7 separate regions of the Homo sapiens genome follow, and regions 1, 2, 4, 5, 6 and 7 are each linked to region 3. The links are contacts of gene promoters, found by promoter capture Hi-C in blood cells and fetal thymus (Javierre and others, 2016). All regions are on one chromosome and are shown on one strand. The core of a region is centred on a gene start or on the middle of the fragment in contact, and the rest is flanking DNA. Distances in the headings are between cores, read along the strand shown.

Region 1 (3,235 bases), core at 405-2,904, 230 kb after region 3:
AAAAAAAAAAAATATATATATATATATATATATATATATATATAAAGCTTTTTTTGTGTGTGTGGAAACTTTGAAGAATTCCAAGGTTCTTCAGAGAGGGAAAAGGAATAATCTGTAAAGTCAGTGCAGATAGAAAAATATTTGCAACATCTAGGGTGCCCAAAACCAGCAAGAAAATTAGGGGATATGTCATGGAAGGCACAACTAATCCATCTAGTCAGAAATCTACCAGAATCTACCCTGAATCTGGACTGCACTGGGGAGGATCACAAACAAAACAAAAACTAAGGGCGTATCTATAGACATCTAAGAGGTGAGTAAGAAAAGAACTCATAAGAAAGCTAAGCTCACTTGTCTTTATAGACCAGCTACTAAAACATAGAATTCCTGATGTTATATTTCTTTCAATCTCTTCAACCTTCTCCCTTTTTATCATAAATACCACACTCTCTTCTCTTGGCTTCTGTGACACTACATTCCCCGAGTTTTACTCCTTCCTTCCTAGCTGCTTCTCAGGCTCTTTGCAGATCCACTGCCTCCTCCACAGGACCAGTAAAGACTGAAGCTAAGGCTCACATGTGGGTCCCATTCACTTCTCCATCTAAGTACTCTTCTTATCTGATGTCAGCCATTCCTATTGCCTTAATAGCCTTTATAAGCTAATGGTTCCCAAACACATCTTTAGTCCTGACCTCCTGGCTTACCTCATTAACTGCCTACTTGGCATCACCATTTGCATATCTGGTAGATATATCAAAGTTTTTTAAAAAATAAAAACTCTTGGGCAGATGTGGTGGCTCATGCCTGTAATCCCAGCACTTTGGGAGGCCGAGGCAGGTGGCTCACTTGAAGTCAGGAGTTCGAGACCAGTCTGGCCAACATGGTGAAACCCGGTCTCTACTAAAAATACAAAAATTAGCCGGGTGTGATGTTGGGTGCCTGTAATCCCAGGTACTCAGGAGGCTGAGGCAGGAGAATCACTTGAAACCAGGAGGCGGAGGTTGCAGTGAGCCAAGATCATGCCACTGCACTCCAGCCTGGGCAACAGAGTGAGACTCTGTCAAAAAAAAAAAATCAAACCTCTTGATTTCTCTTATCAAGCCTTTTCTTCTACTATGCTTTTTCATATCAGTAAATGGTATCATTGTTATGGGACACTCTTGAACAGATCTCCTTTACAAAACTGAAAACTACCCAGTACTCACCATATAACTAATCATTTTTGTTTTCTTGTGGGAAACAAATGGATTTAATCAACAAAAACCTAATCTATTGTTCTAAAGTTAAATACATTAAGACCCAGATGCCCCATTCCTAAAAGATGAATCATGCATTTTGCAAGCAGGGAAGAAAACATGCAATGCTTATAAAATTCCTACCAAAAAACAAACTTTCTTTGCCCAGGAGGTAAGCTTGTTCTTTAATATTTTTATTGTAGAATTAAGGAAATGGTAGCCCCATTAAACTACTTTGAATAAGGTAAGATGGCTGTGATTGGCTATCCTGGAAAGGTAATAAAAGGGAATAGAAATACTCTTCCCACTCTGCCAGCCCCCAGTCATTCCCACTAGGAGGTCACAAAGTGTTGACAAGGCCTACAAGACCCCTACTCACATCTCTACTCCTTCTTTCACAGCATTCCAGCCACACTGTTCTTTATTCAGCTCCTAGAATAATCTAGACTCTCCTTCCTACTTCTGTGCCTTATGGATACTGGGACCACATCCCTATGAGGCAACAATTAGCTGGTGCTGAGTAGCCTCTGTTCTATTCTAAATGGGGCTTGCACTTCACATTTCACTCCTGGCCTGCCCTGCCTGCTTCACTCACTTAAGATACCTACCTAGTACTGAAAATAGTTAAGTTTCCAACCTCTTACCTACACCATGAAGCTTTGCCCCACATCATGTTGGTCAAAAGAGCACATTAACTAGTCCCAAAATAACAATGTCTGATCTCACTTGTCCACACCCCATCCCACCCTCAAGCCAACACCTGAACCCCGTGTAGCTTTAGGACACTTACTTGAAGCTTTCATCATTTAGCCTCCCTCAGGGTTCAGTGTATACTTTGATATGAGGAAGCAGGGCCACAGCTAGATGCAGAACAGAGAGAAGGCTACCCTGTCCAAGGTCACTGGATAGACATTTCACCCTGAGTTTCAAGTTGATGAAAAGAATGGACTAAGAAGTGACTTCTCAAATGGGGAGGGAGCAAGTCTGACCCCCTGAATTTCCCCTTCCCAGAGGCCATCTAAAAGCACTCTCTGTGGGAAGAAAGGAAGGGGACATCATCACTGACCTTTTACTACCAGACGACTAGAATGGCCACATCCAAAGCTTTTGCTTCCTCACCCCTAGCCCACTCTTCTGAAGCTGCATTCTTGAAGGATACCAACCTCTAGAGGCAGGGATCTTTTCTCTGCATTCTGGTGCTCTCTGCAGCATTTGACATTACACAATCCCCCCATCACCCTTGAGGTTTCCCTCCTTTTAATGCCCATTAAGTCACCTCATCCTACTTTTGTCTTTCTGTCTCCTCCTTACCTCTCCTTAGCTTGGTTTCTCTTATTATTTATGTCCCATAATTAGATTTGTTTCCCTAGGTTCTGCTGACTGGATATTTTCCTGGATGTCTCGTAATCACCTTAAATTCTGTTTTTCATTCTCCCTTTGACTTCTAATGACCCAAGGAAAGTAGAACATCCCTCTCAGGATCCAACAACAATCCAAAACACAAGGTGAATTCATGGCAACTTAAAACACAAGGTGAATTCATGGCAATTTAAGACACAGGAGGAAATAGAGGGGCAGCCAAGATGGCCGAATAGGAACAGCTCCAGTCTACAGCTCACAGCGTGAGCAATGCAGAAGACAGGTGATTTCTGCATTTCCAACTGAGGTACCGGGTTCATCTCACTGGGTAGTGCTGGACAGTGGGTGCAGGACAGTGGGTGCAGCGCACCGTGCATGAGCCAAAGCAGGGCGAGGCATGGCCTCACCCAGGAAGTACAAGGGGTCAGGGAATTCCCTTTCCTAGTCAAAGAAAGGGGTGACAGACGGCACCTGGAAAATCGGGTCACTCCCACCCTAATACTGCACTTTTCCAACGGGCTTAACAAACCGCACACCAGGAGATTATATCCCACACATGGTTTGGACGGTCCTACGCCCACAGAGCCTCACTCATTGCTATCACAGCAGTCTGAGATCAAACTGCAAGGTGGCAGTAAGGC
Region 2 (3,174 bases), core at 121-2,620, 240 kb before region 3:
AAAATACAAAAATTAGCTGGGCGTGGTGGTGGGTGCCTGTAATCCCAGTTACTCGGGAGGCTGAGACAGGAGAATCACTTGAACCTGGGAGGCGGGGGTTGCAGTAAGCTGAGACCATGCCATTGCACTCCAACCTGGGTGACAGAGTGAGGCTCTGTGTCAAAAAACAAAACAAAATAAAAAAAACCCATACGCATTTATTTAAAGGTAAAAGCCCATGATGTATGTACCTTACCTTCAAATGGTTCAGAAAAAAATTTTGTGTGTGTGGGTGTATTTTATATACATATATCTATATATATATAGAGAGAGAGAGAGAGAACACGAAAGATAAAGCAAATGGGGTGAAATATTAACAATAGTTGAATCTAGGTAAAGGGCATATATGTGGCTTTATATTATTGTTATTTTTGCAACATTTAATAAATTTCAAATTGTTTCTAAACAGAGTTAATAAAACAATAAAATTACAGCAGGATACATGCAATAATTAGTGTTTGGACAGTGTATAGTGGGACAAAGGAAGGATCCATCAGCTTTGTCTGGTGATGGGGGTGTCAGGGAAGGCCTCATAGAGAAATTGGAGGAAAGATTGGAAGGATGATGTCTTCTTTTCCCATTTATTTATTATTATTATTATTATTATTATTTTGAGGTGAAGTCTTGCTCTGTTGCCCAGGCTGGAGTGCAGTGGAGCAGTCTTGGCTCACTGCAACCTCCACCTCCTGGGTTCAAGCAGTTCTCCTGTCTCAGCCTCCAGAGTAGCTGGGATTACGGGTGCACGCCACTGCACCCAGCTAAATTTTTGTATTTTTAGTAGAGACAGGGTTGCACCATGTTGGCTGGTCTTGAACTCCTGACCTCAGGTAATCCGCCCACCTCGGCCTCCCAAAGCGCTATGATTATAGGTGTGAGCCACTGTGCCTGGCCAATTATTATTCTTAATTAATTAATTTATTTTTCATGAGGTGTCACCTCAGTCTAAAAGGATGATTTCTTGACAGAGTTGTGTCTAGGGGGCCAGGGCATCTGGGGGAGGTGGGAGAGGGAGAACGCAGGGGAGGATTGTGACCTATCCACGAATCTGATTAGATACTGCTACATTGTATGGCCTGCCTTGGCAAAGCAGGATGCCCCTCCTCAGATGGCGACAGTCACCTGTGTGGCCAGGAACACAGCTCCCTGCTCCTCCAGCCAGTCGCACGTCCTTTCTCATTTCCACGGTCCCAGGCTCAGGTACCCTCAGAGGGAAGGGCTTCAGAGGGAGGGGCTAGCAGCCTAGGCTGCTCAGGGTTGGGCTGGGCAGGGCTCAGGTGGTTTGGCTCTCCACAGCTCTCCACATAAAGGGACCAGCACTTCACCCTTCATCAGGATCCTCTGCAGGGGAGCTCCGAGTGTCCACAGGAAGGGAACTATCAGCTCCTGGCATCTGTAAGGATGCTGTCCATGCTGGTGAGAAAAATGTTTTTGATCCATGTGTGTGGGAGCAATGATGCCAGCTCAGGTCTCAGTTTTAGAGATTTAGAGTTTCAGGGAAATGAGCCCATGGCCCCTTGGGTATTTGTAGTGTTGGACAGCCGTGGGGCATATTCCAGGAGGTTTTAGAATGCTCATGAGCCCATCACTTTCCATTTGAGGATTCCTGACTCAGAAAGGTTAGGAAGTAAGAACGAGAGGATGACAAAGGAAGGGCCAGCCAGTGACCTTGTGCATCTTGTTTTTCCTTAGAGGACAATGACCAGACTCTGCTTCCTGTTATTCTTCTCTGTGGCCACCAGTGGGTGCAGTGCAGGTAAATGGCTTCTGAGAGTAGGAGCTGCAGTTTCCTGGGCTCCCCTCTGCTGTGCAGGGCCTGGAGGGAGTAGAGCTGGGCAGGGCTCTGAAGTCAAGGGTCAAAGGGGAAGTTCTGGAGAGGCAGGGAACCCAGGCTAGGCAGCCAACTTGAGGTGTGGACTGGGTGCTGATTTCTGGCCTCTCCTGGGGTCTGGTCTGAAGCAGTCAGGGTGTTAGCTCAGGTATTTCCTAGGGCTTGATTCTCTGCTTCTGTGGCTGTGAGGGGTTCATGGGGTGAGAGAGTAAGAACTGTGTCCCTGCTCAGCTGCTCTTGTGGCCTTGGCCTTGGGATCTCCAGAGGCAGCTGGGTGATCAGTGCTGTGTCCAGGGTACACCCTCCTCTAGTCGCAGAGGAGGATATTGTGAGAATAGAATCCTCACAATTCTATTCTTCCAGTAGGCACAATAGTGATATTTTTTCATTGATACTGGGTTTATTGTTTATTTCAATCCATCAGTTAAAAAAAGCACATTTACATATGTCATCTCATTTGATCTCCATGCGTATAAAGAAGTTATTAATGACATCTTAAAGATGAAGAAAAAGGATCAGAGATGTTAAGTGTCTGCTCAAGGAGGCACTGTCATCAGGGTTTGTCTGGATTTTACCTTGAGTCCTGTAATTTTTTTTTTTTTAGACGGAGTCTTGCTCTGTTGCCCAGGTTGGAGTGCGGTGGCGTGATGTCGGCTCACTGCAACCTCCGTCTCCTGGGTTAAAGAGCTTCTCCTGCCTCAGCCTCCCCAGTAGCTGGGATTACAGGTGTGCACCACCACACCCCAGCTAATTTTTGTATTTTTAGTAGAGATGGGGTTTCACCATATTGACCAGGCTGTTCTTGAACTCCTGATCTTGTGATCCACCCTCCTCGGCCTCCGAAAGTGCTGGGATTACCGGCATGAGCCACTGTGCCTGGCCTGAGTCCTGTAATTTTACACTTTTTCCCGCTCTGCCAGGCTTTTGGAATGATTTCTAGGCTTTTAGACTTATATACATGGCCCTTCATCCACTGGCCTCTGTTAATTTTTCAGCTTTGGTTTCCAGACTTCTTTGTATTACAACATATGTTCCAGCCACAATAAGCGACTGACCTGTAGTTTTTGGCAGGCTGGGCTGGGCTGGGCTCTGTTATTGCTTCAGGCCATCTCATGTGCTTTCTTCTCTTCCTGGGGTGTACTCTCCCCTTTCCTTCCTGTCCTGTAGCCAGCTCCCATTCTCCCATCAAAATCAGCCTGCTCTGAGTTACAGCTGGTCCCTTCCCCAGCAGTTCCCAGGCCTCACCCCCGTTAGTGGGTTTGCCCTCCCATCTCAGTTGGGTCCCTTTCCATGTGCTCCTTCCTTGT
Region 3 (3,001 bases), core at 171-2,670:
GACATTTTATTGTTCATCTCCATGTTGAGAATCAGAAATGTCCCCAATTAAAAAGTGATTACAAATATGTTATATCAGGAACTGTGGCTTGCCTGTGGGTCCTGGGTGGGCAAATAACTAATTTACATTCAATAGGAATGAGCTTGAAATTTCCTAGACATGATATGATTTGGCTGTGTTCCCTTCCAAATCTCATCTTGAATTGTAGTTCCCATAATCCCCACATATCATGGGAGCAACCCAGTAGGAAGTAAGTTAATCATACGAGCAGTTACCATCATGCTGTTCTCGTGATAGTGAGTTCTCACTAGATCTGATGGTTTCATAAGGAAGGGGCTTTCCCCATTGCTGCTCAGTGCTTCTCTTTCCTGCCACCGTGTGAAGAAGGACGTATTGGCTTCCCCTTGCACCATGATTGTAGGTTTCCTGAGGCTTCCCAAGCCATGCTGAACTAGAAGTCAATTTAACCACTTTCCTGGCCAGGCACAGGCCCATGCCTATAATCCCAGCACTTTGGGAGGCTGAGGCAGGTGGATCACTTGAGGTCAGGAGTTCAAGACCAGCCGGGCCAACATGGTGAAACCCTACTAAAAATACAAAAATTAGCTGGGCATGGTGGTGCTTGCCTGTAATCCCAGCTATGTAGGAGGCTGAGGCAGGAGAGTTGCTTGAACCTGTCAGGTGGAGGTTGCAGTGAGCTGAGATTGCACTGCTGCACTCCAGTCTGGGCTACAGAGTGAGACTGCATCTCAAAAAAAAAAAAAACCAAAACAAACAAAACAAAACAAAACCCCTCTCTTTCCTTTATAAATTACCCAGTCTGGGGTATGTCTTTATTAGCAGTGTGAGAACAGACTAATACAGACTACAAGGGTGGGAAATCCATTCTTTTGGGCCAAGTAATCTTACTTTTTTTCTGATGTTCAGTGGATAGGCTGATGTCAAACTTCAAATAGTGAATTATCATAAAGGAAGAAGAGCAGAGGGTGGTGCTGGGGGTAAGATATGCAGCACAAAGGCTACGTGGGTCTGATTTCCCAGACTTCAGGCTCTGAATGACACCTACCCAGGCTTGACTGGGAAGCTCCTATGTCTTAGCCCCTGAATTAATCAGAGGGATTCCTGCCTGGGAACGAAAAGCAGACATTCTCTATCAGGGTCCCTTATTCTTTTCTGAGTACTGGCCCCCCTGAGAGTACAGTAGAAGCTATGAATCTTCCCCCTACAAAAAAGCACTCATGTACCTTCAAACAAAATTGTTCTCAGTTTCCGTGATGCTCTTAGATAAAAAAATTTACAAGACCTCCGGTTTCTGGTTTCTGGGGCCCCACACAAGTGTGCTGGGTGGAGAGAAAATCTCAGTGGTTTTTTTTTTTTTCTCTCTAACCCTGTTTGGTAAGTTCCGTTTTTAGCCCCGGCCTTTTTCTAGCCAGGCTCTCAACTGTCTCCTGCGTTGCTGGGAAGTTCTGGAAGGAAGCATGTGCTCCAGAGGTTGGGATTCGTGTCTGGCTCTGGAATTGCTACTGCTGCCTCTGTCACTCCTGGTGACCAGCATTCAAGGTACTTTCCACCAACTGTGTATCTGTGATTGTGCACTGAAGGCATGGTCAGTTGGGAAAGGGGAGACGGGATGTAGTTCAACCCTAGAAGCCAGATCTGGTGTCTGGAAAGCAGGTATTTCCATTCCAATAGCATGGCCATGGCATGGTTGGGGAGCCTTTCTTAGCACTGATGAATGGAGCTTCATCTCCTTTCCCACGGGGATGTGATCAAAACAGGAACCTGGGGAGCAAGAGAAGTAGGCTCCTCATATTTTGTCCCGTGGTTGGTGGTCCATGAAGTTGTGGAAAAGTGTTTGTTTTTTCATTTTGAATAAGAAGAAGCTCTACACTGACAGCTGCTGCATTTTATGCTCAGACACACTGTACTCCCTTAGGCATTCTTTGAGACCTCTGTATATGTGAGGTGTTGCATCCTGAGCCAAGGTAAATGATATTGTCATTGACCCAAAGAAAAGATAGATCAAAATTATAGGAAGAAAAGCTTGGAAAGGATTGCTGTCTGGGGTCTCTGAATGAGGGTCTGAGAAGAGGCTGGAAGTGCTTCAGCATCAAAGGAACCTTAACACATCTGATTGCTAAGAGTTAAGGTCCATTCCTCTGCCACAGCCTGTTCGGTCCCCGGTGTGTGACCAAGGGCTGAGCTAACTTTCCTTCTCCTGTTAGAGCTGCCTCACCCTCTTTCTTCATCCAGTACCTCTCTTCTTATGCCAGCTGAGAAACAGCAGTGAAACCTTTGACTTTCTTGCTATTCCCCCAAGTAAATACTCAAGTCTTTTTAATTTAAAGGGCTTTAATGCTCACCACTCTGAGTAAAACAGTAAAAATCAACAAACATGTGGTAGTCACACTGTGGCATAAAATGATGATAGTTTGTAACTTTTGGGGAGATGAGGTAGAATGTGTGGAGGATCGGTCTCTCACATATTCTACCTCTCAGGTAGAGTCCTTTGGTTCATGACTGTGTGAGTCTACGGCTATATAGGTTCTGTGGGCCTGACTCAATGCATAGGACATTGGTATGACCTTGGGATTGGGGGCTGATGTGAAGTATTCATCTAACTATTGGGAAAAGCAGGGTTGCCAATGAGAATTGGAATATTTTAGGACTTTCTCTAGGCATACTGAAAACATCCTGACAGTTGACCTTTCTCTGACTTCTTTTCTAGGCTTCATCTTGGTCATTTATTCTTCTTTGAAACAATCAGACCACACCTGATTATGTTATCCTTTGAATGGATAATATTGGTTTTGATGAGGTTAGTAAACCTGGGTTATAACACCCGGGCTATAACCTGGGTTAGTAAAATACAAATTAAGCACTTACTGTGTGTCAGACATTGTGCTAGGCCTTTTGCATACTTTTTCATTTAACTTTCATTAGAAAATAGTGAGGTGGCTATTATTATCTACATTTTTCAGATGAGAATACTGTCTTGCAG
Region 4 (2,700 bases), core at 32-2,531, 220 kb before region 3:
AGGCTTTTCTTGCTTTGTGCCCCACTTAAAATTGGCCTAGATGAAAGCAGCAGGCTCACATGTTATATGTGTTGCTTTCAAAATCCAGAGACCAACCCTGACCCAGTATTGTTTTTCACCTTGGAAAGATCATTCTGACATAGAAAATTCACTGATATGGCATATTCTGCATATAGCCTGCCAATTCTTTGGTAATTCCCCCCACCCCACCAAATTTGGGCGGGCTTAGTGACTAAGTTTTCATGAAAAGAATATGGCAGAAGTGTGACCTCTGAGACTGCATCCTAAAAAATGATACAGCTTCTTCCTGGCTTTCTCTTTCTTAGGACTTGTGCCTTCGGATCCTGATTTATTAAGTGAGAAGTCCACTATCCTGAAGCTGCTATGCTGGAGAGACCATGTGAAAAGATCATATAGAAGTAGAAAGATGCCCAAGAAGCCATATATGCTTCTTTCTGTAGCTGTTTCAGTCTGCCCACCCAGGGATCGGACATGTTAGAGAAAGAGTCTTAAAGATTATCCCAACCCCAGCCACCATGTGACTGCAACCTCATGAAAACCCCACACCAGAACAGTGGTATCAGCTCAAACTTTGCAAGGGCTAGGAGACTGAGGGCAGCTGACCAGATTTATGTGATTGAGCCTAATAAACTGGCCTGAGTAAGCTTCCCTGGTTGACAATATTCTGCGAGTATTATCACACACTGGATGTCAGGAAATTAACACTGTCCACAACTCATGGAAAGGACAACTGGGAGTTCTGTGTTTAGAGCTTTCCTGAACTCTGCCCTATGTACCCCTTCCCTTGGCTGATTTTAACCTGTATTCTTAGCTGCAATAAACCGTAACTTTCCATGAGCACTGTGAGTTTGTCTTGTGAATTATTAAACTCACGGGTGGTCTTGGGGTCCCCCCAAGCTGACAATTAATGTCAGAGAGGAGGAGGATATTGGGGGACCCCAACCTTGCAATCGGTGTCAGAAGTGAGGGTGGTCTTGTGGGCTGCTCCTCTAACAATGTATCCAGCATAACCTTGATATGAAAATCTCACAAGAGTATCACAAGAAAAGATAATTATAAGCCAACCACCCTCATGACTGTATATGCAACAATTCTAAACAGGATATTAACAAACCTACATATGAATTTGAGAGGACATAAATGTTCAGATCATAGCATTGCTGAGCATTCTGTATGAATATAGACATAATTCAAGACCAAGACTGATGATTGCTATTGTGAGTTGAACTGTGTTCCCTAAAGTGGTATGTTAAAGTCCTAATCCAAGGTACCTGTGAATGTGACCTTATTTGGAAATGAGATTTTTGCAGATGCAACTATTTAAAATGCAGTTATAGTGGATTAGGGTGGGCCCTAATTCCAATATAACTAATATCCTTATAAGAAGAGAAGAGACACAGATGCAGAAACACACACAGATGGAAGGCAGCTGTATGAAGACGGAGGCAGAGAAGGGAGTTATGTGGCCACAAATCAATAAATACCAAGGATTGGCCAGGCATGGTGCCTCATACCTGTAATCCCAGTACTTTGGGAGGCTGAGGTGGGATGATTGCTTGAGCCCAGGAGTTTGAGACCAGCCTGGGCAAAAAATACAGTGAAACTCCATTTCTATCAAAACCAAAAGCAAACAAACAAAAAACCCAAGGATTGCTTTCTACCTGAAGCTGGATGAGGCAAGAGAAGATCCTCCTGCAGAGTCTTTGGACAGAGCACAGTCCTGCTGATGCCTTAATTTTGGACTTCTCACCTCTGAAATAGAGTAATTTCTTAAAAAGCCACCTAGGTTGTGACAATTTGTTATGGCAACCCTAGGAAACTGACACAATTGTGTCATTGTTTTTTTCTCTCTACTAGTTTTAAAATTGTAAGCTTTTTTTCTATCCTTTTAGTGGCTGCTCTAGAACTAACAGCAGGCTTCATGAATGTTTTCTAATCACAAATTTGTGTGTTTATTTCTTTTAAAAGCATTAATTGCGAGCCTATTATGTGCCAGAACATATTCTAGATGCTGGGGATATAGCAACAAGTCAGGTACACATTTCTGCCTTTCTGGAGATTGTACCCTAGTACCAGGAAATATACAATATGCTATAAAAATAAATAATAGAATGTCAAGTTTTTATTTATTTATTTATTTTTATTTTTTTAAACCAGGTCTCCTTATGTTGCCCAGCTGTTCTTGAACTCCTGGGCTCAAATGATCCCCCCGCTTCAGCCTCCCAAAGTGCTGGGATTACAGGCATGAGCCACCACACCCAGACTAGAATGTTAAGTTTGAAAAGTGCTATGGAGAAAAAGAAAGTTGAGTAGCGACATAGATATATTGGGGGTGGTGGTGGTTTACAACTTTAATAGATCTTTAAAGAAGACTTCAGTGAGAAGGTGACATTGAGGAAGGATCTGAAGAAGGTGAGGGATTGAGCCATAAAGTACCAGGCAGAGGGAATAGCAACTGCCAAGGTATTGAGATGGGAGTATCTTCACTGCGTTCAGGGAGCTGCAGGGAGATTTGGCTAGCAGAAGCTGCATAAGTATGGAGGAAAGCAGCAGGTCATGACAGCACAAAGGTAAGATGGGAGCAGATTGTGTAGGATATTGTGGGCCTTCTGGGCAAGACTAGAAGCCTTCAGAGAGGTCTGAGTAGGAGGGTAGCCTGATTTAACAGGATGACTTTGG
Region 5 (3,140 bases), core at 409-2,908, 250 kb after region 3:
CAGGACAACAGTAGTTACTTCTTTTGTCATAGAGTCTGTCTCTTATAATGCCAGTACTTTGTAACCAGCTGTTTCCTTTTTTCTGTGGTGTGAGAATACAATAACCTGGATTCTATATGAATAAGAGTTGGTAGGCTCTGAAAGACCACCCAAGGACTTCTCCTACAGAGCTTTAGGACAAAGGAATGGTGGTGGCCACCTTAGCAGATACGCTCTTATTTACTTACTGTTTCTCCTGGCCAGGGAATCTGAATGTCTACAATTTCTGGAAGTCCGGGGCAATTTCTGTAATAATTTTACAGGCACAACTTTTGGGCTCAGTTTTTGTACATATTGCCATACCAGCCCTGTTGCCAAGGGAGGAATGGGGATGGAAAAGTGACTAGAACCACTCTTCATTTGTCCAATATCCAAATGAAATAATCAAACCTTATCTCTTTGGGTCACTCTTAGTCATTTAAACCATTTTTAATATTAAATATTTAAACAAAATGTTTCTAGGTCTTCTAGCCTTCTGAGGTCACCCTTTCCTTCAACATTTAAATAAAATACCTCCCGCACCTTCCCACACCCAGTTGGAGACCTCCATCTGTGAGGATTGCTGGATGGGTGGGAAGGGAGCAGTGCTTATATTCTGCTGGTAGCCTCTCATCCATGTTGCTGCTCCCATATAATTTCCAGTCCCTGTTATCACCTCACTTTCTAGAACCATGTTTCTCTCCATGCTGCTTCATCAGAAGCATGGACCCAGCCATCAAAAGAACACCAACACAAGCCTGACGATTTGAGGATAAGGGCAGGAGACTACAGCAGAGGACAGACTAGGAAACAGATTAAAATTGAGTTATTGGCTGGGCGTGGTGGCTCACGCCTGTAATCCCAGCACATTGGGACGCCAAGGCAGGTGGATCTCCTGAGGTCAGGAGTTCAAGACCAGCCTGGCCAACATGGTGAGACCCCCATCTCTACTAAAAATACAAAAATTAGCTAGGCATTGTAGCACGTGCCTGTAATCCCAGCTACTCGGGAGGCTGAGGCAGGAGAATCACTTGAATCCAGGAGGTGGAGGCTGCAGAGATCCGAGATAGCGCCATTGCACTCCAGCCTGGGTAACAGAGTGAGATTCCATCTCAAAAATAAACAAACAAATAAATAAATAAAAGTTATTTAAATCACTGTCCTCAAATTCCTTTGGTCATCCCTGCACAGGAACTTTCTCTTTGGGTACTATTTTCCTTAGGCCCCAGCATGTACCCTTCCCGGGAGCCTACTGGGTCTCACTCTCCTTTTCTCCAGGTTCCAGACCCCCAAATCTAGTCACATGAGTCAATAGCTAAAATTTCAGGATTTCTGCAAGTTAGCTGTTAAGCATCCCGTCAGTAACTAAATGCTGATATTTAAATAAATTATATATTTTTAAAAGGGTAGTAAGTACTCAAATGCATCACTTCTTAATTATTTTACTATCCTTTACTATTCTATGCTCTTGAGAGGATTTACATCTACTGCACACACATAGAGGAAACACTATATAATGGTGCACATCTTTTCCTAACTCAGTGACTTGATGGAAATGCTACCACAGAAATGGACAAGTGCTACAAATCAGAGTTTTAGAGTACTTTGTATTGTTTGGTTGTTGTTGTTATTGGAGAGGTGATTGTTAAACGTTTACCAGCACAAAACTCCCCCACTCTTCCAGGAAAAAACTGAAACACACCTGTCACTCCAGACTCCAGTACACAGACCAATTTAAACTATTTTTACTCACAGTATATCTCTTTTCAGAACATGCTATGGGGCCTAGATCTGAACAAAGTGGCCCGTTAAGGAGTTTGTCTAAACCCAATAGCCTTCTACTTCTCAGATGAGTTTTACCAACATCCCTAAAATTTGAAACAGCTGCCATGGTTTTTTTCAAATAATCCATTTACTAATCTTTGCGTTTTCCTCTGTTTTCTTCAAAAGCATATATTGAACACAATATTCAGTGTTAAGATGCCTCATGAGAAGCTGGGGTGAAAGAAGAGGGTAGAGAAGTGTGTTGCAACTTTGGAAAAACTGAGTCTCCCTCAAAGAAGGGGGTTAGGAGGGTTAGAGTTAGAGTTGTTGTTGAAGAAAAACTCCCAAAAACAAAGCTAGTGGAAACTCTTTCTCTCTGAGGGGGATAATAAAAGTGAGGGGAGCACCCCTTCCATTGTTCATGAGTCATTTCCTGTTTTAATTCTTCCTGTTTGTCCTTGGTTTTTCCACAGTAAATGTCGACTCCACCTTTCACTCTTACCTCCCCTCCTGGGTCATGATGATCACGGCCCAGTATTGCGTGAACATGTTGGTGGCCTGAAAGCACTCTGAGGATGAAAACTGTTAGGGAGCCAGAAATGACTTCTAAATCTGCAAACTGGTCTGAACTGTTTCTTCCTTCTTTGATTTTATTTCTCTTTCCTTCTTTTTTCCTTCCTTCCTCATGATCTTCCCCCACGCCTCCCTTTCTATCCTTTCTTTCCTTCTTTTGAGTGTTGCTTTCAGTGCTTTAAATGTTTCTCCATTGGGAATTGCTACTACAAGGACAGGAAGTAAGGTTTTGAGCACAAGATTTTGACATTGGTCCACCAGCAGCATGAGAAAGAGACAAATAAGAGAAAGGAGCAAAACGGTGTTCCTTTGAAAGCGGAACCCTAAAAATGAAACTTCTTAGCCTTGTTTACCCTTATCCAAATAACTTCTGAGTAACTACCTCTGAGAATAATAATAGCTATCCTTGGTGTGGCTGCTTTCTTCTGAAGTGTTCAAATAACTAAAAAGAGCAGGAACTTTGTCGTGGGGCGCTCTGAGAGTAACGCTGGCCACTCCTTGCTGGCTGGCTGGCTGGCCCTGTGTGCTTTGCACCCCCTCTTCCAGCAGTCTCCCTGGCACAGTTTGACAGTCAGTAGCCAGCATCATTGTGATTGGCCAGCAACTGCGCTGGACCAGTTGCTAAATATTTTTTAGTCAACTTTGATTAAATTAAATAGTGTCTGTAAAAAGCCTATCACAGAGCCTGCCTGGCATATAGTAGTGGGTGTTTAAACATTTTTAGTTCTAACAAATTTTTCCTACCCACCCACCTTCAAACCTCATTATCAACACAGTTCTGTTGG
Region 6 (3,366 bases), core at 112-2,611, 170 kb after region 3:
ATAATAATAATAATAATAATAATAAATAATAATGGAGAGCTCCTTGAAGATAGGGAGCCTGTAAGAATCATTGAGGGCTTATTTTGTATACCAACTGCTAAACTAGATGCTTCATACATTGTTGTCAATACTCATGACAGCCTTGTAAAGTAGAAATTAATTCTTCCAGTTAACACTAAGGCTGACATATGAATACCTTGGCAAATCTGGAAAGCTGGGAAGACAGTATTTGAATTCAAGACTTCTTGTCACCAAGGGCCATGCACTTGTACTCTGCCATGTGGCCCTTTTTTACCTCCTGTGGATTCTCCCTACCTGGTACTTGGCCTTAGGTGTACACACACCTGGCACTTTGCTTGACACATAATAGGTGGACCACAAATATCTACTAAATGAATATTTGCATATAGTAATATTTTAAGGTACTAAAAGCAGCTCAAAGTAAATATATTAATATATTAATTCCATTGCTATCTGGATAACCACTCAACTTTCCTGCTGAAAATGCCCATTTAATTAAAGAAGGTTGGATAGAGCTCTCTATATGCATTTTGGACAGGCAGGGGTTTCAGGTCATAAACATTCTGATGAGTTAATATAAAATAAGAGAAACTGTAAATTTCCACTACTAAAAATCACAAAAATAACAGAAACAAAAGAAGAGATAAGAATTTGGGGAATTGTGCTGAACAATTTAGTGGTTAAAAAAAACAACTGTGCATGTTTAGACTTAAATAAGCCCCCATCCAAGTGTGAGGGGTCCAGTAATTTTTCAAAACATATGAAAGTGTTAATACATTTCGACAAAGGACCATTAAAAAAGTCCTGAATTCTGACTTGAGGGAGGAAAGTAATGACTAATACATTCTCTAGAGACTTGCAGACTTTGGGAATTCATAAAGGAATGGATGATAATTATTAACTGTTGCTGGCTGATTGCCCAGACAGTTCTCAACAGCCCTGTACAAGTCTCTGGGTTTGGGATGGATCAATTCTGAGACTGGAAAATGGCCAAATCTTTGCAAATGAGAAATATTTTTCTTATAAGTTCTTATTGTAGGCAAATAATTACATAGATTATTCATCAGAGAATTTTTAAATGCTCATAATCTCAACTCTTTCATTTACAACTTGTATTTCCAATAGTTTATGGGTCATCTCTGCATAGATGTCAGAAGTCACCTCAAGTTTAGCGTGTCCAAAATCTAACTCACAGGTCTGTTTCTGACCTCCCAACTTGCTTTCCTTGTGTTTTTCCTATGCTAATGATCCACCATAATCAAAATAATTAACATTTATCCAGTGCCTACTATGTACTATTCCCTGTCCTGTTTTACATTTACTCATTTAAAGTCCATAAGAAACATTAAATCTCATCTGCCTTCTGAAGAAGATACAACCATGCTCTCTTTTACAAAGTAGGAAACTGGGTCACAGAAAGGTGAAGTCTTTAAGGCTGAATCACAGTAGCTCATCCTAGTAAATAGAAAAGCCAGGATTCAACTCCAGGGGCTGGGTGCAGAACTGCTATTCTTCACTGCTTCACCAATCAGCAGCTACCCAAGGCAGAAAACTTTTTCATCCTTGGCTCCTTCATTCTCCCTGTCACCCCAGATCCCCTCTACATCTAGTCAGAGAATAGGTCCTGTCAATTCCAACTTCTCTATATGGCTCCTCTCAGGCATGTGCCCTTAATTGGCCTAATTCTCTAATACACCTTCCCTCTACATGCTCACTCCCTCAGATCATTGCTTTATCACGTGTTACCTGGGTTGCTATTACATAAAGAGCAATCTTTCTAAAATGAGGATCTTATCACTTCACTTCCACACTAAAATGTTTTTCCTGGGGAACCACACTCCTTAGCAATCTGACCCATCAGACCTTCCAGGCTGTCTCCTGCCTGCTCCCTAAGGCTCCAGCCACACAGAATTATCATGGGCCCACACACCCACCAAATCCTCCCATGCCTTTGCCCATGTTGTCTGGGATGCCCTTCTCTCCCTTCTGTCTACATCAAGCATCAGACTGAATATCCCTCTTGTGCGGCCTTCTAAAACCTCCCGTCCAAAGCGAAATATATTGCCCTCTATTTATACTTTTACAGCATTTGGCACACAAGTACAGAGTAGTAGCTTTTTATCACATTCTCTGATAATTATATAGATATGGTATTTCTTAGCTCTCTCTCCAACTGGCTAATAAGTTGCTTTTTGTCTGAGTGCCTAATTTTGTGTTTTGTGTCTGAGTGCCTCAGTTCCTCAAAAAAAGGTTTTTTGATTAGTTCATTATTCATTTGAACATGGAAATTATGCTCACTAGTGGCAAATGCCACTAACCGTATTCCAGAAGCTAGGTGTCATGTTTGCAATAAGATATATTATCCCTTCTACAAGTCACCTTTTATTTCAGGCATTTGTAAATGCCCATTAATAAAGTATGGTTCATAAATTTTACCTTGTAAGTGCCTAAGAAATGAGACTACAAGCTCCATTTCAGCAGGACACAATAAATATTATTTTATAATGCATCTATTTTGTGTTTTACTTTGTTTTGGTTTTTGAGAGCAACAAAAATGAAGTAAACAGATGAAACAGCAAAGGAGACAGTCCACATGATAAAAGCCCTGTGCTGTCTGAAAACCCAGGCCCTGAGTGGACACAAGAGACCAAGGGATTGAGGGTATAAGACAGACAAAGAAAAAAAGAAAAGCTGATGTAGAGAGATGATTGGGACCTTGAGAGGAGACTGAGAAGCTAGAGACAGGAAGGACAAATGCCAGAAACAGAAAAAACCCGGAGGGCAGCAGAGGTGCTTGGTTAAGGTGGAGAAGAGAGTTCTGCCTTGGTCAACCTAGAGAGAGGAAATTGAGGACTTAAATCACGTTTTGGGGGTCATCTCCCTCCAGGGAAGAAGCTTTGTCTTATTCATTTTTCACTCACAGTGCCCTATCACAGGAGCCAATGCCTAGCAGAGCTTAGTAAGTATTTGTTGAACTGAATTTGGATTGGCACCCACATATCAGAAGAGGAAAGAGAGTCCTGGAAACCACATTCAGAGTCCGAGTCCCAAATTGGAGAGTAGAAATTCTCTGTGTCACCCATAGTGCCACTTGGAGGAAAGGGATAAAAAGACTGGGCTTTTAACTGAGGAGAATGAGGTTGTGGTTTCCACAGAACTGTAGGTGCAGGGCCTCTGAATGTTTGGTAAACACTGAAGGGGAGGTGACTTACTAACAGGCGCTGTGAGATAGCAAATGGTTTTTAGGCCTGAGACAAAACCACTTCCTCTATTCCCTGCTTATCAGAGGCCACAGCTGCTCTGTTCTGAGCCAGCGTTTGCAGATAAGCCTGGTCTTCCAGCTCC
Region 7 (2,997 bases), core at 166-2,665, 150 kb after region 3:
ACGCAGGAGACTACAAAGCAGACATAAATACACAGGCTGATCCCTACACCACCACCAAGCGCTACAACCTGCAAATCTATCGTAAGTCATGGGAAGACGGAGAGCTTGTGTTTTATTTTTACTTTGCAAGTTTGCTATCTGAAACACATCTACATTTCTGATAATTGGGTCCCCTAAATCTTTTTATATCTATAAATACTTACATATTGATACATCAATACTTATAAGAGGATGTAGTCTTATTTCAGTCCTGACTTTGCCTGTTTTTAGCTATGTAATTCTTCCATCAGTAGTTGGTCCCCTGGGCCTTGGTTTTCTTTTTTACATAATGTCAATGATCATACTACTCACTTCCCAGGGTTATCATGAGGATCAAATGAGATAGTGTATGCAAAGTGCTTTAAAAAAACTTTTCATTTTGAGATCATGATAGATGCAAAGAAGGTACAAATAAATATACAGGGAGGTTCTATGTACCCTTCACCCTGTGTTAACACCTTGCATAACTATAGCACAATATCAAAAACAGGAAATTGACATTAGCACAATCTATAGAGCTTATTTAGGTTTCACCACGTATGCATGCATTCATTTATGTGTGAGTATGTGTGTAGCTCTGTACAATTTAATCACATGGGTAGTTTTGTGTAACCACTACCATAATCAAGATTAACCATCACAAGATTCCCTCATACTCTCCCTTTATAGCCACATCTCCATCTTTCCCTTCCCCAGTCCCTGAAAAACAACCAGTTTGTTCACATCTACAACTATGTCATTTCACACATGTTATGTAGATGGAATAATGAAGGACGTATCTTTTTGAGGTTGGGTATTTTTCACTTAGCGTAATGTCACTGAGATTCATCCAAACTCTTGTGTGTACTAATAGTTTATACCTTTTTATTGCTAGATAGTATTCCACGGTATGGATGCACTAGGTTGTTTAACCATTCACCTCTTGAGGAACATTTTAGTTCTTTCCAGTTTGGGGCTATTACAAATAAAGCTGCTGTGAATATATGTGTACACATTTCTGCATGAAATAAGTTTTTATTTCTCTGGGATAAATGCTCAAGAATGTAATTTTATGATAAGGGCATTTACAGCTTTAAAAGAAACTGATAAACTATTTTCAACTTTCCATTCTCACCAGGAATGTATGAGTGATCCAGTTTCTCTACATCCTCACTAGCATTTGGTGTTATTATTTTTCATTTTGGCCATTCTGATGGGTGTGCAGTGATAACTCAATTTAGTTTTAATTTGAATTTCTAGTAGTTAATGCAAAGTGCTTTTGAAAGGTAAAATATTATAACTATTTGTTATCATCATTATAATTGCCACAATTCACTGGGAGATGTGCGTGCTTTGTTTTGCAAGCTACCCCAAGTGTGGTCTGTAGACTGGCAGTATCAGCATCAACTGGGAGCTTTTTGGAAATGCGAATGTTCAGGTCCTCCCCCTGACCTTTGTGAATGAATGAAGTCCAGGAATCTGTGTTTAATGTTATCTCTGGATTATTCCCACCTGTGCCAAAGTTTGAGAAAGTACGGACCTAGTGCTGCCCTATTCACTATGGTAGCCTCTAGACACATGCAGCTCTTGAGCATCTGAAATGTGGTGAGTCCAAATTGAGATGTGCTGTAAGTGTAAAATTCATACCAGATCTTGAAATCTTAGCACCAAAAAAATATATAAAATATCTCAATAATTTTCTTTTTTTTCTTCAATGTTTATTTTAAGTTCAGGGGTACATGTGCAGGATGTCAAAGTTTGTTACATAGGTAAATGTGTGCCATGGTGGTTTGCTGCACAGATCATTCCATCATCTAGGTATTAAGACCAACATCCATTAGCTAACCTTCCTGATCCTCTCTCTCCCCCAACCCCTCTCCAACAGGTCCCAGTGTGTGTTGTTCCCCTCCATGTGTTCTCATCATTCATCTCCCACTTATAAGTGAGAACATGTGGTGTTCGGTTTTCTGTTCCTGCATTAGTTTGCTGAGGGTAATGGCTTCCAACTCCATCCATGTCCCTGAAAAGGACATGATCTTGTTCCTTTTTATGGCTGCATAGTATTCCATGGCATATATGTACCACATTTTCTTTATCCAATCTATCATTGATGGGCATTTGGGTTGATTCCATATCTTAGCTATTGTGAATAGTGCTGCAATGAACATACATGTGCAAGTATCTTTATAATAGAATGATTTATATTCTTTGGGGTATACACCCAATAATGGGTTTGCTGGAACAAATGGTATTTCTGCCTCTAGGTTTCTGAGGAATGGCCACACTGTCTTCCACAATGGTTGGAATTAACTAATTTACACTCCCACCAACATTGTAAAAGCATTTCTTTTTCCCTGCAATCTTGCCAGCATCTGTTGTTTCTTGACTTTATTAATAATTGCCATTCTGACGGGCAGGAGATGGTATCTCATTGTGGTTTTGATTTGCATTTTTCTAATGATCAGTGATGTTTAGCTTTTTTTCACATGTTTGTTGGCTGCATGAATGTCTTCTTTTGAGAAGTGTCTGTTCATGGTTTTTGCCCAGTTTTTAATGGGGCTGTGTGTGGTTTTTTTTCTGTTTGTTTTTTCCTTAAACGTTTGTTTAAGTTCCTTGTGGACTCTGGATATTAGACCTTTGTCAGATGGATAGACTGGAAAAATTTTCTCCCATTCTGTAGGTTGTTTGTTCACTCTGATGATAGTTTCTTTTGCTGTGCAGAAGCTCTTTAGTTTAATCAGATCCCATTTGTCAATTTTTGCTTTTGTTGCAATTGCTTTTGACATTTTCATCATGAAATCTGTGCCCGTGCCTATGTCCTGAATGGTATTGCCCAGATTTTCTTATAGGGTTTTTATACTTTGGGGCTTTACATTTAAGTCTTTAATTCACCTTGAATTAATTTTTGTTTAAGGTATAAGGGAGTGGTCCAGTTTCAATTTTCTGCATGTGGCTAGCCAGTTCTCCCTGCACCATTTT

Evidence for each region. Contacts are between HindIII fragments. The CHiCAGO score rates a contact against its expected background, and 5 or more counts as called.
Region 1: a contact is called between a fragment that was not itself captured here and the fragment with the promoter of CD48 in region 3, in 3 of 17 cell types (naive CD8 T cells, total CD8 T cells and activated CD4 T cells). The highest score is 5.6, in naive CD8 T cells.
Region 2: a contact is called between the fragment with the promoter of ITLN2 here and the fragment with the promoter of CD48 in region 3, in 13 of 17 cell types (total B cells, naive B cells, M2 macrophages and 10 more). The highest score is 12.9, in total B cells.
Region 4: a fragment that was not itself captured here is called in contact with the fragment with the promoter of CD48 in region 3 in 7 of 17 cell types (naive B cells, erythroblasts, endothelial precursors and 4 more); the score reaches 8.7 in naive B cells.
Region 5: a fragment that was not itself captured here is called in contact with the fragment with the promoter of CD48 in region 3 in 2 of 17 cell types (activated CD4 T cells and non-activated CD4 T cells); the score reaches 6.2 in activated CD4 T cells.
Region 6: a contact is called between a fragment that was not itself captured here and the fragment with the promoter of CD48 in region 3, in 5 of 17 cell types (fetal thymus, total CD8 T cells, naive CD8 T cells and 2 more). The highest score is 8.4, in fetal thymus.
Region 7: a fragment that was not itself captured here is called in contact with the fragment with the promoter of CD48 in region 3 in 2 of 17 cell types (naive CD8 T cells and non-activated CD4 T cells); the score reaches 5.6 in naive CD8 T cells.

What each region holds. Positions count from the first base shown.
Region 1 is chr1:160,481,021-160,484,255 of GRCh38, reverse strand. No RefSeq gene overlaps it. Among named protein-coding and RNA genes, the nearest start is that of SLAMF6, 41 kb to the left of the region's middle. The HindIII fragment of the contact is 480 bases long and covers 1,415-1,894 here.
Region 2 is chr1:160,953,005-160,956,178 of GRCh38, reverse strand. ITLN2 (intelectin 2) reads left to right here and starts at 1,370. Exons shown (of 8, transcript NM_080878.3): 1 at 1,370-1,452; 2 at 1,729-1,792. The coding sequence starts at 1,438. The HindIII fragment of the contact is 24,751 bases long and covers 1-3,174 here.
Region 3 is chr1:160,710,241-160,713,241 of GRCh38, reverse strand. It overlaps CD48 (CD48 molecule), which reads left to right and starts at 1,420. Exons shown (of 4, transcript NM_001778.4): 1 at 1,420-1,560. The coding sequence starts at 1,479. RefSeq lists enhancers at 392-451, 992-1,171. The HindIII fragment of the contact is 2,140 bases long and covers 1-2,045 here.
Region 4 is chr1:160,929,804-160,932,503 of GRCh38, reverse strand. LOC124904441 (a long non-coding RNA gene) reads left to right here. Exons shown (of 2, transcript XR_007066689.1): 2 at 327-858. It overlaps LOC101928372 (a long non-coding RNA gene), which reads right to left and starts at 39. Exons shown (of 6, transcript NR_110695.1): 1 at 1-39. The HindIII fragment of the contact is 1,228 bases long and covers 668-1,895 here.
Region 5 is chr1:160,460,020-160,463,159 of GRCh38, reverse strand. No RefSeq gene overlaps it. Among named protein-coding and RNA genes, the nearest start is that of VANGL2, 61 kb to the right of the region's middle. The HindIII fragment of the contact is 3,940 bases long and covers 1-3,140 here.
Region 6 is chr1:160,540,262-160,543,627 of GRCh38, reverse strand. It overlaps CD84 (CD84 molecule), which reads left to right. Exons shown (of 7, transcript NM_003874.4): 7 at 1-2,530. The region is part of intron 1 of CD84-AS1 (CD84 antisense RNA 1); the gene reads right to left. Among named protein-coding and RNA genes, the nearest start is that of CD84-AS1, 4.8 kb to the right of the region's middle. RefSeq lists an enhancer at 3,135-3,366. The HindIII fragment of the contact is 3,114 bases long and covers 1-2,918 here.
Region 7 is chr1:160,562,488-160,565,484 of GRCh38, reverse strand. CD84 (CD84 molecule) reads left to right here. Exons shown (of 7, transcript NM_003874.4): 2 at 1-81. The region is part of intron 1 of CD84-AS1 (CD84 antisense RNA 1); the gene reads right to left. Among named protein-coding and RNA genes, the nearest start is that of CD84, 16 kb to the left of the region's middle. The HindIII fragment of the contact is 5,530 bases long and covers 1-2,997 here.